Regions from separate parts of the Homo sapiens genome. Here region 1 is linked to region 2. Evidence: promoter capture Hi-C in human tissues and cell types (Jung and others, 2019). All regions are on one chromosome and are shown on one strand. Each heading gives the region's core, a stretch centred on a gene start or on the middle of the fragment in contact. The rest is flanking DNA. Distances are from core to core; before and after follow the strand shown.

The links. The method cuts DNA at HindIII sites, captures the fragments that hold promoters and counts their contacts. A contact is called where the count stands out against the background at its distance.
Region 1: the fragment with the promoter of ECHS1 here is called in contact with the fragment with the promoter of LRRC27 in region 2 in 1 of the 25 tissues and cell types used here (lymphoblastoid cells).

The regions. Positions count from the first base shown.
Region 1 is chr10:133,371,132-133,374,603 of GRCh38, forward strand. It overlaps ECHS1 (enoyl-CoA hydratase, short chain 1), which reads right to left and starts at 2,223. Exons shown (of 8, transcript NM_004092.4): 1 at 2,115-2,223. The coding sequence starts at 2,202. It overlaps MIR3944 (microRNA 3944), which reads right to left and starts at 532; the gene lies at 425-532. RefSeq lists a silencer at 1,986-2,495 and an enhancer at 2,877-2,966. The HindIII fragment of the contact is 22,751 bases long and covers 1-3,472 here.
Region 2 is chr10:132,327,273-132,334,066 of GRCh38, forward strand. It overlaps LRRC27 (leucine rich repeat containing 27), which reads left to right and starts at 4,921. Exons shown (of 11, transcript NM_030626.3): 1 at 4,921-4,984; 2 at 6,205-6,462. The coding sequence starts at 6,253. It also overlaps a transcript of STK32C not described here. RefSeq lists an enhancer at 4,204-4,738 and a silencer at 4,623-4,742. The HindIII fragment of the contact is 23,116 bases long and covers 1-6,794 here.

The DNA of each region.
Region 1 (3,472 bases), core at 973-3,472, 1.0 Mb after region 2:
TCGGGTGTTGTGGCGGGCGCCTGTAGTCCCAGCTACTGGGGAGGCTGAGGCAGGAGAGTGGCATGAACCCAGGAGGTGGAGCTTGCAGTGAGCTGAGATCATGCCACTGCACTCCAGCCTGGGTGACAGAGTGAGACTCCGTCTCAAAAAAAAAGAAAAGAAAAAAAGAAAAATCCCCAGCACAGAACACAGCCCACAGCCGCTTTCCTTCTCCTAATATGCCTTGGTCAGCTCTTCCCAGGACACCACTCTGGAGACAGCCCTGGACTCTGCTGAGACAAGGCACCAGGAAACACCTTCTTTCAACAAATGCCAACAGGTGAGGGGGTGTAAGGCAGCTCCTTGCACTTGGTACCGCCCCAGTGCCAAGACCTCTGGCCAACTGGACGCAGGGTGGGGGATGTGAAAATCCTGGGTGTTCCTGCAGCATTAAGATCAGGCACAGGTCCGGAGCAGCAGGCCAGCCCGAAAATGGGAGACGCAGGCGCTTCTCGGTTGGCCTGCTGCACAGGACCTGCGCCTGCTGGGTGGACAGCAAGGTGGGAAGGAGACAAAGGACAATGGCGTTCCAGGGGTGAGAAGGTGAACCTGAAAAGACAAAGGTAGCCTGTGTGTTGGATGCTTGCCTCCGTTAGTGGCAGAGCAGGGATCATAGTCCCTGTGCTATGGGTTTCTTTTTTTTGGAGACCGAGTCTCACTCTATTGCCCAGGCTGGAGTGCAGTGGCGCAATCTTGGCTCACTGCGACCTCTGCCTACAGGGTTCAGGTGATTCTCCTGCCTCAGCCTCCCGAGTAGCTGGGACTACGGTCACACACCACCACACCTGGCTAATTTTTGTATTTTTAGTAGACATGGGGTTTCACCATGTTGGCCAAGGTGGTCTTGATGACCTCAGGTGATCCACCTGCCTCAGCCTCCCAAAGTGCTGGGATTATAGGCATTAGCCACTGTGCCCCGCCGTATCCTGTGGGTTTCTAGGGGTAACTGGAAGATCACAGGTGAAGTGTCTGGCAGCAGTGCCCGCCATGCAAGATCCAGGAAAGGGCTGCTGTCAGGGTGGAGAAGCCGAAGGCCAAGGAGAGCATGGAGATGAAACCAACACAACTCAGTGGTCCACTGCTACACAGGGTGAGGGAGGAAGAGGAAGCAAGAGTTCTTCCCCAGCCCAAGGCATGGCCCAAGATTCCTCAGATACTAGAGCCGGTGATGGCCGCTCATGAGTGGGGCCCCGGGTGAGCCACGAGGGAGGAAGAGGGCAGCCCCCTGTGGCTGGGGAGGAGGTGTCAGCTTTTCCCTTAGGACCCTCTGAGGGGTGGCCCTGGTCAGGAGGCACCCAGGACAAAATGCACCTGCATCTCCTGTTCTCGGGCTGGCCGGCTGCACAGGAGCTACGCCTGCTCTTAGAGCCGAGGGAACACCCCGGATTTTTACAACCCCCACCCTGCGCCCAGTTGGCCAGAGGTCTTGGCACTGGGGCAGTACCAGCCAGCCGCCGGGCCTCCCGCAGGACGTGGCCTGGTGAGAGTGGCCTCCTGCAGAGCCAGGCAGGGGGTGGGGGTGCGGGCCAGGGTCAGGTGGGTGGTGTCGGTGCGGGGTGGCGGGTGGTGGGGGGGTGTTAAGCCTGGGTCAGGCTGTGGGTGCGGGTCAGGTGGGGGGTGCAGCACTAGGCGAGGGGGGTGTTGCAGGCCTGAGCCAGGCAGGGGCTGCGGGTCGGGGTCAGGTGGTAGGTGCGGGGTCAGGCAGGAGAGTGCGGAGTCAGGCCCTGGGGATGCGGGATCGGACGGAAGAGGGGTGCGGGGTCAGGCCGGGGGGTGCGGGGTCAGGTGGGGGGGTGCGGGGTCAGGCGGAGTGGGGTGCGGGTAGGGGTCAGGCCGGAGGGTGCGGGGTCAGGTGGGGGGGTGCGGGGTCAGGCGGGGGGGTGCGGGGTCAGGCGGAGTGGGGTGCGGGTAGGGGTCAGGTGAGGGTGCGGGGTCAGGCGGAAGAGGGGTGTGGGTTGGGGTCAGGTGGGGGATGCGGGGTCAGGTGGGAGGGGGGTGCGGTCTGGGATCTGGTCTGGGCGTGCAGGTCGGAGTCAGGAGGAGATTCGGGCCGCCAGCTCTCACCGCGCACTCACCCGAGGCGAAGGGACGCCAGGCGGGACAGCGAACCGGGGGCCTCAGCGGGCCGCGGACGCAGGACAGCAGGACACGCAGGGCGGCCATGGCTCTCTGGACTCCTCGCCCGGCCCCGCGGAGCCGCCCCCTCGCCTATAGCCTTTCAGGGCTCGCTCCGCCCACAGGCCAGCGCCGCGAGACCAGGCGGCCCTCGCGAGATCAGCCCGGGCAGAGTGAGCGGGTCGCTCTCCGCCAGGCCCCGCCCCCAGGCCCGAGCTGCCGCTCGCGGATCTAAGGCCGAGGGGCGTCCCCGGGACCCCGCCCTGGGCTGGGACCAGCGCCCTCCAGGCCCCGCCGCAGTCGCCCGCGCCCCCGCCCCCGCCCCAGCCCTCGGGGTCCCAGCTGGCCCCGGGGAGACCGCGCGGAGGCGGAGGCAACGGCGGCGCCTGCCGGGCTCTGCGCCGCCTCCCCCCGCCCGCCTGCCCGCCTGCCCGCCTGCCCGCCTGCCCGCCTGCCCGCCTGCCCGCCTGCCCGCCGGCGTCTGTAGCAGCGGACACAGCGCGCCCAGGCGCAGGGCCAGGCACGGTGGCAGCGGCGTGGGCACTGAACGCCACATTAGGAGGAGTTTTATTTTCATGCACACAAGACTTCAACAGATTTAAATAATAAAAATTTCATTCATTTAAGTTATTTTATTTATACCTTTTAAATATCTAGACAAGTATTGTGGAGCATCCATTTGTGTACTTGCCCGGATTCTGCAAACGCCAGGGTGGAGATAAAACCACCCTGGATAAAATGGAATGGAAAGCGAAACTGCTATTGTGACCGGTGGAGGGTGTCCAGGTTCTTGACGTCTTGAACAAAGAACTGGACAAAACGCACAAACAAAGCACGGAAAGAAGGAAGCAACAAAAGCGAGATTTATGGAAAACAAAAGTGTGGCCGGGCGCGGTGGCTCAGGCCTGTAATCCCAGCACTTTGGGAGGCCAAGGCGGGCAGATCACCTGACGTCAGGAGTTTGAGACCAGCCTGGGCAACATGGTGAAACCCCCCTCTCTACTAAAAACACAAAAATTAGCCGGGCGTGGTGGTGCACGCCTGTGGTCTTAGCTACTCGGGAGGCTGACGCAGGAGAATTGCTTGAATCCGGGAGGCGGAGGTTGCAGTGAGCCGAGATCGCACCACTGCCCTCCAGCCTGGGCGATAGAGCCAGACTTCGTCTCAAAAAAGAAACAAGAAAAGACAACGAAAATAACTCCACACTGTGGGAGCGGCTGAGCATAGCGGCTCAAGAGCCCCGTTACAGATTTTTTGGGGGGGTTAAATACCCTCTAGAGGTTTCCATTGGTTACTTGGTGTACGCCCTGTGTAAATG
Region 2 (6,794 bases), core at 3,671-6,170:
TCCACGTAAGATGTGACTTGCTCCTCCTTACCTTCCACCATGATTGTGAGGCCTCCCCGGCCATGTGGAACTTTAAGTCCATTAAACCTTTTTTTCTTCCCAGTCTTGGGTATGTCCTTATCAGCAGCATGAAAACAAACTAATACAGAGGCCCTCCCACAATTCTCCCCAACCATGGCTACAATAGGTAATTTTTATTTAAAACAAATTTTTTTTTTTTTGAGACAGGGTCTTGCTCTGTCACCCAGGCTGGAGTGCAGTGGCATGCTCTCGGCTCACTGCAACCTTTGCTTACCAGGTTCAAGCAATTCTCCTGCCTTAGCCACCCGAGTACCTGGAACTACAGGTATGCACCACCACGCCTGGATAATTTTTGTATTTTTAGTGGAGATGGGGGTTTCGCCATGTTGGTCAGGCTGGTCTCAAACTCCTGACCTCAGGTGATCCGCCCGCCTCAGCCTCCCAAAGCGCTGGGATTACAGGTGTGAGCCACCATGCTTGGCCTATAATAGGTAATTTTTAAAACAAAAATTTAAAAACCACCAACACTTCATAGACCAAAAATGAATCAGAAACACATAGCAGCTCACAGGACCCAGACTTTGGGCCTGTGGGGGCTCTGGGCCCAGAAAGAGGGAAAGGTGCTTGGGAGGGCTGTCCCTGAAGAGTGAGGGGGCAGAAAGTGCCTGAGAGTAGTGGAGAACAGCCAAGAGCATCGCTGAAAACCAGGGCTGGAATAAGTCTCTTGCCTCTGTAACTGCCCTATGGGTTCACCTTGCCTGCTGCCTAGACAGAGCCCATTTACCAAGACAGGGGAATTGCAATGGAGAAAGAGTAATTAACGCAGAGCGGGCTGTGCAGGAGACCGGAGTTCTACTATTATTACTCAGTCAGTCTCCCTGCGCATTCTGGGATCAGAGTTTTTAAAGATAATTGGGAGGGTGGGGCTTTGGGACATGAGGAGTGCTGATTGGTCAGGTTGGAGATGGACTCATAGGGGGTCGAAGTGAGGTTTCCTTGCTGTTTTCTGCTCCTGGGTGGGTGCCCGAACTGCCGGAGCGAGATTACAGGTCTGGGTGGTGTCGGCTGATCTGTGGAGTGCAGGGTTTGCAAAATATCTCAAGCTCTGATCTTGGGTTTTACAATAGTGATGTTATACCCAGGAGCAATTTGGGGAGGTTTAGACTCTTGGAGCCAGAGGCTGCAGGACCCCTAACCTGTAATGTCTAATATTGTACCTAATTTGTTAGTCCTGCAAAGGCAGATTGGTCCCTGGGCAAGAAGGGGGTATTTTCGGGAAAGGGCTATTACCCATTTTGTTTCAGAGTCAAACCATGAACTGAATTCCTTCCCAAGGTTAGTTTGGCCTATGCCCAGGAATGAACAAGGACAGCTTAAAAGTTAGAAGCAAGATGGAATCGGTTAGGTCTGATCTCTTTCACTGTCATAATTTCCTCAGTTATAATTTTGCAAAGGCGGTTTCACTTCCATGAAAGGAATGTGAAAAAACATACAACTTCTGCAGCGATATCTGGAGATGGAGACGAGGACAGCCTTCGGCCCAGCCTCTTGCTGGCTCCAGGACTGGATCTACAGTTCCCAACGGCAAGGCCAGGCAAGCACCCAAGCATGACCCCAAAAGGCTGGACGGAGGCTCCTGCCAGAGCATGACACACAGTGAATACTCAGGGAAACAGAACATAAGCCCCCTCTGCAGAAGCCTGCAAGCCTAGATTTCAAAACACAGGACTCCAAGAAGACAGATAACAGTATCAGCCATCAACTGGTAAATTCCGCCCAGGGGAGATGAAAACAATAAAGCACAGTTTAAAATAAATGTGTCTACCCCGGGCAGTGGCTCAGGACTGGCAGTGGCTCACGCCTATAATCCCAGCACTTTGGGAGGCTGAGGCAGGTGGATGGCTTGAGCTCAGGAGTTCGAGACCAGCCTGGGCAACATGGTAAAACCCGTCTCTACAAAAAATACAAAAATTAGCCCAGTGTGGTGGCACATGCCTGTAGTCTCAGCTACTTGAGGGGTTGAGGTGGGAGGATTGCTTGAATCTGGGAGGCAAAGGCTACAGTGAGCCGAGATCACACCGCTGAACTCCAGCCTGGGTGACAGACTGAGACCCTGTCTCAAAAAATAAATAAAATAAATAAATAGAGGTGTTTGGGATTCTCATGGTAGATAAAGAAAGAAAACAGCCGTGAACATTAAAAACAGATTATAAAACAAAAACTGGAAGAAATTAGACACAAAAAAGAAAATTAGAAATAGAGACCAATGCGGTTTTATTTAAAAACTCAACAGATTAAACAAACTAATTGGATGGAGACAGAACTAGTAAACTGGAAGATCGTAAACTGAGAACACAGAGACCAATACTGGGAAGCGCAGTTTGAGAGATGGAGAAGACACTGAATGGGTGCAAGCTACTCCCTTTTAGGAGATCCAGAACAAGAATTATGTCAGGGTGCAGAGGTGCCACGGGAGGACAGATGGCCGGGAAGGGCTGGGAACTGAAACTTAGCTATCTCAGGTGAGAAGACACGGCCAGCGCCAGGCAACACAGCCAAACCAACTTATACTCAGAAATACCACAGCGAAATTTCAGAACAAAGACATGAAAAGAGAAGATAGATTTCCTTCATGGAAGTAGCAATGCCACGGGCAGCAAACTTCTCGGCAGGGTAGCAGCAGTCGCTGCCCGGAGGAAGGTCCTAAAATCAAGACAGGAAATGACTCAACAAGGAACGCGGCACCAGCTCCACAGCCACTCAATAATCAGATCAACACGAACACTTCATTCGTTCCTACGTTGGGAGGCTCACCCAAGAATACTTGCCAAAAGGCTACCAATGGATACAATCTGGCTGGGCAAAAACTGAGCACAGTAAAGGGCAAAACATGCTCGTACATACAATTAACTACTGACTACAAAAATTAATGTAGCATGAAAAATGTGAAACAAAAACCTGAGGCAACAATAACAAGCAAGAGGGAATACGCTCAAATGGTTAGTAAATGTTTTATTTGTGAAAAGAGATACTGGAATGCTGAAACTTGTTAGAAATAGCATCGTGCTGAAATCTTCCATCCCCTTCGCCACTCACGGCAACACCCATGTCACTCCTCATTCTCTCCTTGCTCTGCCCGGGTGGCTGGCCTCCCCACGCTCCTGAGAAGGTACTGGTTGTGCTTTCAGCTTCCTGATTGGTAGATAGTTGGGTATGTACGAAAACTTTTTTTTTGAGACAGGGTCTCGCTGTCACCGAAGCTGACATTAAGTGGCACAATCATAACTCACTGCAGCCTCAAAATCCTAGGTTCAAGCGATCCTCTTGCCTCACCCTCCCACACAGCTGGAACTACAGGTGTGTGCCACCACACCCAGCATTTTTTTTTTTTTTTTTTTTTAATTTTTGTAGAGACTGGGTTGCCCAGGCTGGTCTCCAACTCCTGGCCTCAAGCGATCTTCCCACCCTGGCCTCCCAAAGTGCTAGGGTTACAGGCGTGAGCCATCGTGTCCGGCCTAAAAAACATTTCTTACTGTGATCTCTTCACAAAAATAAAACGTAAATCCCCTCAAAGTGGATAGTCGTTTCTCCACATAATTATGTCGTTTCCTTTAAAAAGTGGAATCAGGCCGGGCACGGTGGCTCATGCCTGTAATCCCAGCACTTTGGGAGGCCGAGGGGGGCGGATCATGAGGTCAGGAGATCGAGACCAGCCTGGCCAACATGATGAAACCCCGTCTCTACTAAAAATACAAAAATTAGCTGGACGTGGTGGCGCGCGCCTGTAGTCCCAGCTACTGGGGAGGCTGAGGCAGGAGAATTGCTTGAACCTGGGAGGCGGAGGTCGCAGTGGGCCGAGATCGCGCTACTGCACTCCAGCCTGGGAGACAAAGCAAGACTCCACCTCAAAAAAAAAAAAAAAAAAAAAAAAGTGAAATCATGGCAGACTCCAGCTAAACTGTCCGGGTTTCCAGAGTGTTTCTGGGTGGGACAGAGGGTGCTACTTTTCATTATCAGTTGGATCCTGGAATGAAGGTGCACGGGACTCCAGGGTTCCACAGGACCACGCGAGCACCTCCCCTCCCGCCCGGTGTCATTTCATCTTCTTCCAAATTCTCAAAACCCTTCCTCAGGACACTCACTGCGTTTCCTCGCCCCCCTCACTCCTCCGTCCAGAGGCAGCCTTACTTCTCCAAAGAGGACGCTCTGAGTCTGCGTTCCCCTGGCAGCAAGTCCTGAGGCAAGATTTGGGGACAAGCAGCTCCTGTGGGAAGTGGCTCCAGGAAGCCCCAGGAGAGACGCGGGGAGTGAGCCCAGCGGGAAGGACAGGCAGCGAGGACCGCTCCAAAGGTGGTGCCTCAGCAGCAATTCTTTTCTGCTCGGCTGTCCTCGAGCAGCCCCGCCCGCCCCGGGCCCTCCGGCTCCCCAGACGGCACTTAGCATCCCGCTCTCTTCCTTCCCCTCTGTGCCAGGCCGGTCGCCCCTCCAGACCCTCGCGGTCTCTACTTGCCCGTCGACCACCACCCCTTCAAGGCCGCGGGCGCGGAAAAACGGATGCTACCGTTGGCCGCGTGCGTGCGCAGGCGCACCACCCCCTGCCACCCCCGCGCAGGCGCACCACAACCCCCCCACCGCAAGCGCAACCCCCCGCCCCAGCGCAGGCGCACCACACCCCGCCCCCTCCCGGGCAGGCGCACCACACCCGACCCCCTGCCGCGCAGGGGCACCCACACCCCGCCCCCGCACGCAGGCACAAACCCCCACAACACGCACACCCCCGCGCGCAGGCGCACCACACCCCTCGCGCAGGCGCATCACAGACACACTCGCGCTCAGCGTGGCGCCTGCGGGATTCCGTACCGGCGTCTCCATGGCGACCGCGTTGGCTGGGTGGCCTCCATTGTCGGGCTGCTGCTCTCAGCGGCGGGGCTCGCCAGCGCTTCAGTGGGCGGGGACGCGGCAGGTGAGACGGGGCGGGTACGGCCAGCTCGCTGAGCCCTCGAGGCGGGCGGCGGCAGGAAGGTGGTGCCTCGGCCCGTCGTGCCCTGTCGCCTAGCTCCAGCCGCGATGCTGACCGCAAAGGCTGCCCTTCTGAGGCCTGGAATGTGAGGCCCAGAGCGTCGGACCCAACTCAGCCTCGCCCGGATGGGGAAATCGAGGCAGGGAGCGGGGGTGGGCGTGCGTGGGGATCCCTTGAAGGCAGCCTCGGAAACCCCACGGAGCCTGCGCTGCCTGGGCCCTGTGTGAGTCCAGGCTGTTGTTTCACTTCTGGTTTTAAGATACTTTCCCTGTTCTGAGGTTTGAAGCCTCCCCTCCTCTGTTTTAAGTTCCGTGATTCGGAGAAAACAAGTGAACTGACCGTGAAAAAGCCCGCGGGCTTCCATGGAATGCAGGCTGCCTGGGGTTGAACCCTGCTGGGTCCCGGTGTCGCCTCTACCCCCCAATTAACTGCGCCCCTGGAACAGTTCCCTAACTGATCTGCGCCTCATATGCCAATCATTGGGCTGTTGAGTGACTTGAATTAGGTGAACTGATGCATTCCAACGTTGATTCTTATTGCCGAATAAATTGTTTGGAAATTGCAAGTGGAAGTGTGCCTCGCTGAATGAGATTTTGGTGAACAATACTTCTGAGTAAAAGTGTTGCTGGACAACGAAAATTCGAGATTAATTTAACAGGTTTTTCCCCGGTGCTTAACTGGGTGTAAGCCAGACTTAGTTCTGGTCACTGGGTCAAAATGGTAAACAAAAGACAGGCTTCCTGGCCTCAAGAAACTAAAAACATAGTTCAAATGGCACAGAACCACACCAGAGGTAAGAAACAGTGCAAATTTCCACCCGCCCCTAGTCATTTCATGGAAGCGTTGCAGTTGATTTACAGGCTTTGAAATGTTCCGATCTGTTTACATCCCTAAAATGATCATTACTATTGTGCGCCTTTGCGTTTTCCAGGAGTTAAATCTTGGAACTCCATTGTACAAAGTGAGAGCAGAGAATTTTAATCTGAACCTCTTTGTATTCCTTTTTTTTTTTTTTACATGTTTAAAAGTCAAATTTTTGCTACTGCTTAGGAAAAATGATAGCTTTTAAAGCAAGTTACATTACAGTAGATCTGCCACACAGCTATTCTGTTTTGCCTCGGTATAATTAGTTGCTTCTACGTTTCCCTTTCCCGTGTCTCCAGGTGACTCCAGACCAAGGAGGATGAGCTGCTGTCCCTGGAAGAGAACGGATGGAGGGAAGCAGCTCCTACGAAGTTCCCTCTGTGGCTGCTGCTGATCTGGAGGAGGGTGCTGGTCAGACTAGGAGCTTGCCTGCCACCCCCTCCAAAGATGTTCACAAGGGTGTTGGAGGCATCATCTTTTCCTCCTCACCGATTTTAGACTTGAGTGAAAGTGGTCTGTGCCGTTTGGAGGAGGTCTTTAGAATCCCCAGCCTTCAAGTAAGTGGGGCTGCTCCTCAGGCTGTGTGCCCACAGGTCCCCTATAGACAGAAATGGGAATGTACCCCTGGGCTTTATTTGTAGGCTTCTTTCTCTTTGGAATTGATGAATTCTAAAATTAAATAGAGGAAAGGTTAACTCATAGTTTCATACGCCAATCACAACAAAATGGGAAATTCATGATGGGGACCAACCAATGGAAATAGTACATCTATTTAGATGAAGGTGTCTGTTCTCTTCCTTGCAGTTCATCTCTCAAAACCTGTGGTAGAAACTACTGCCAAACACGCTTGGTCTCTTAATTAAAACACAAAACCTTAAAGAAAATCAGG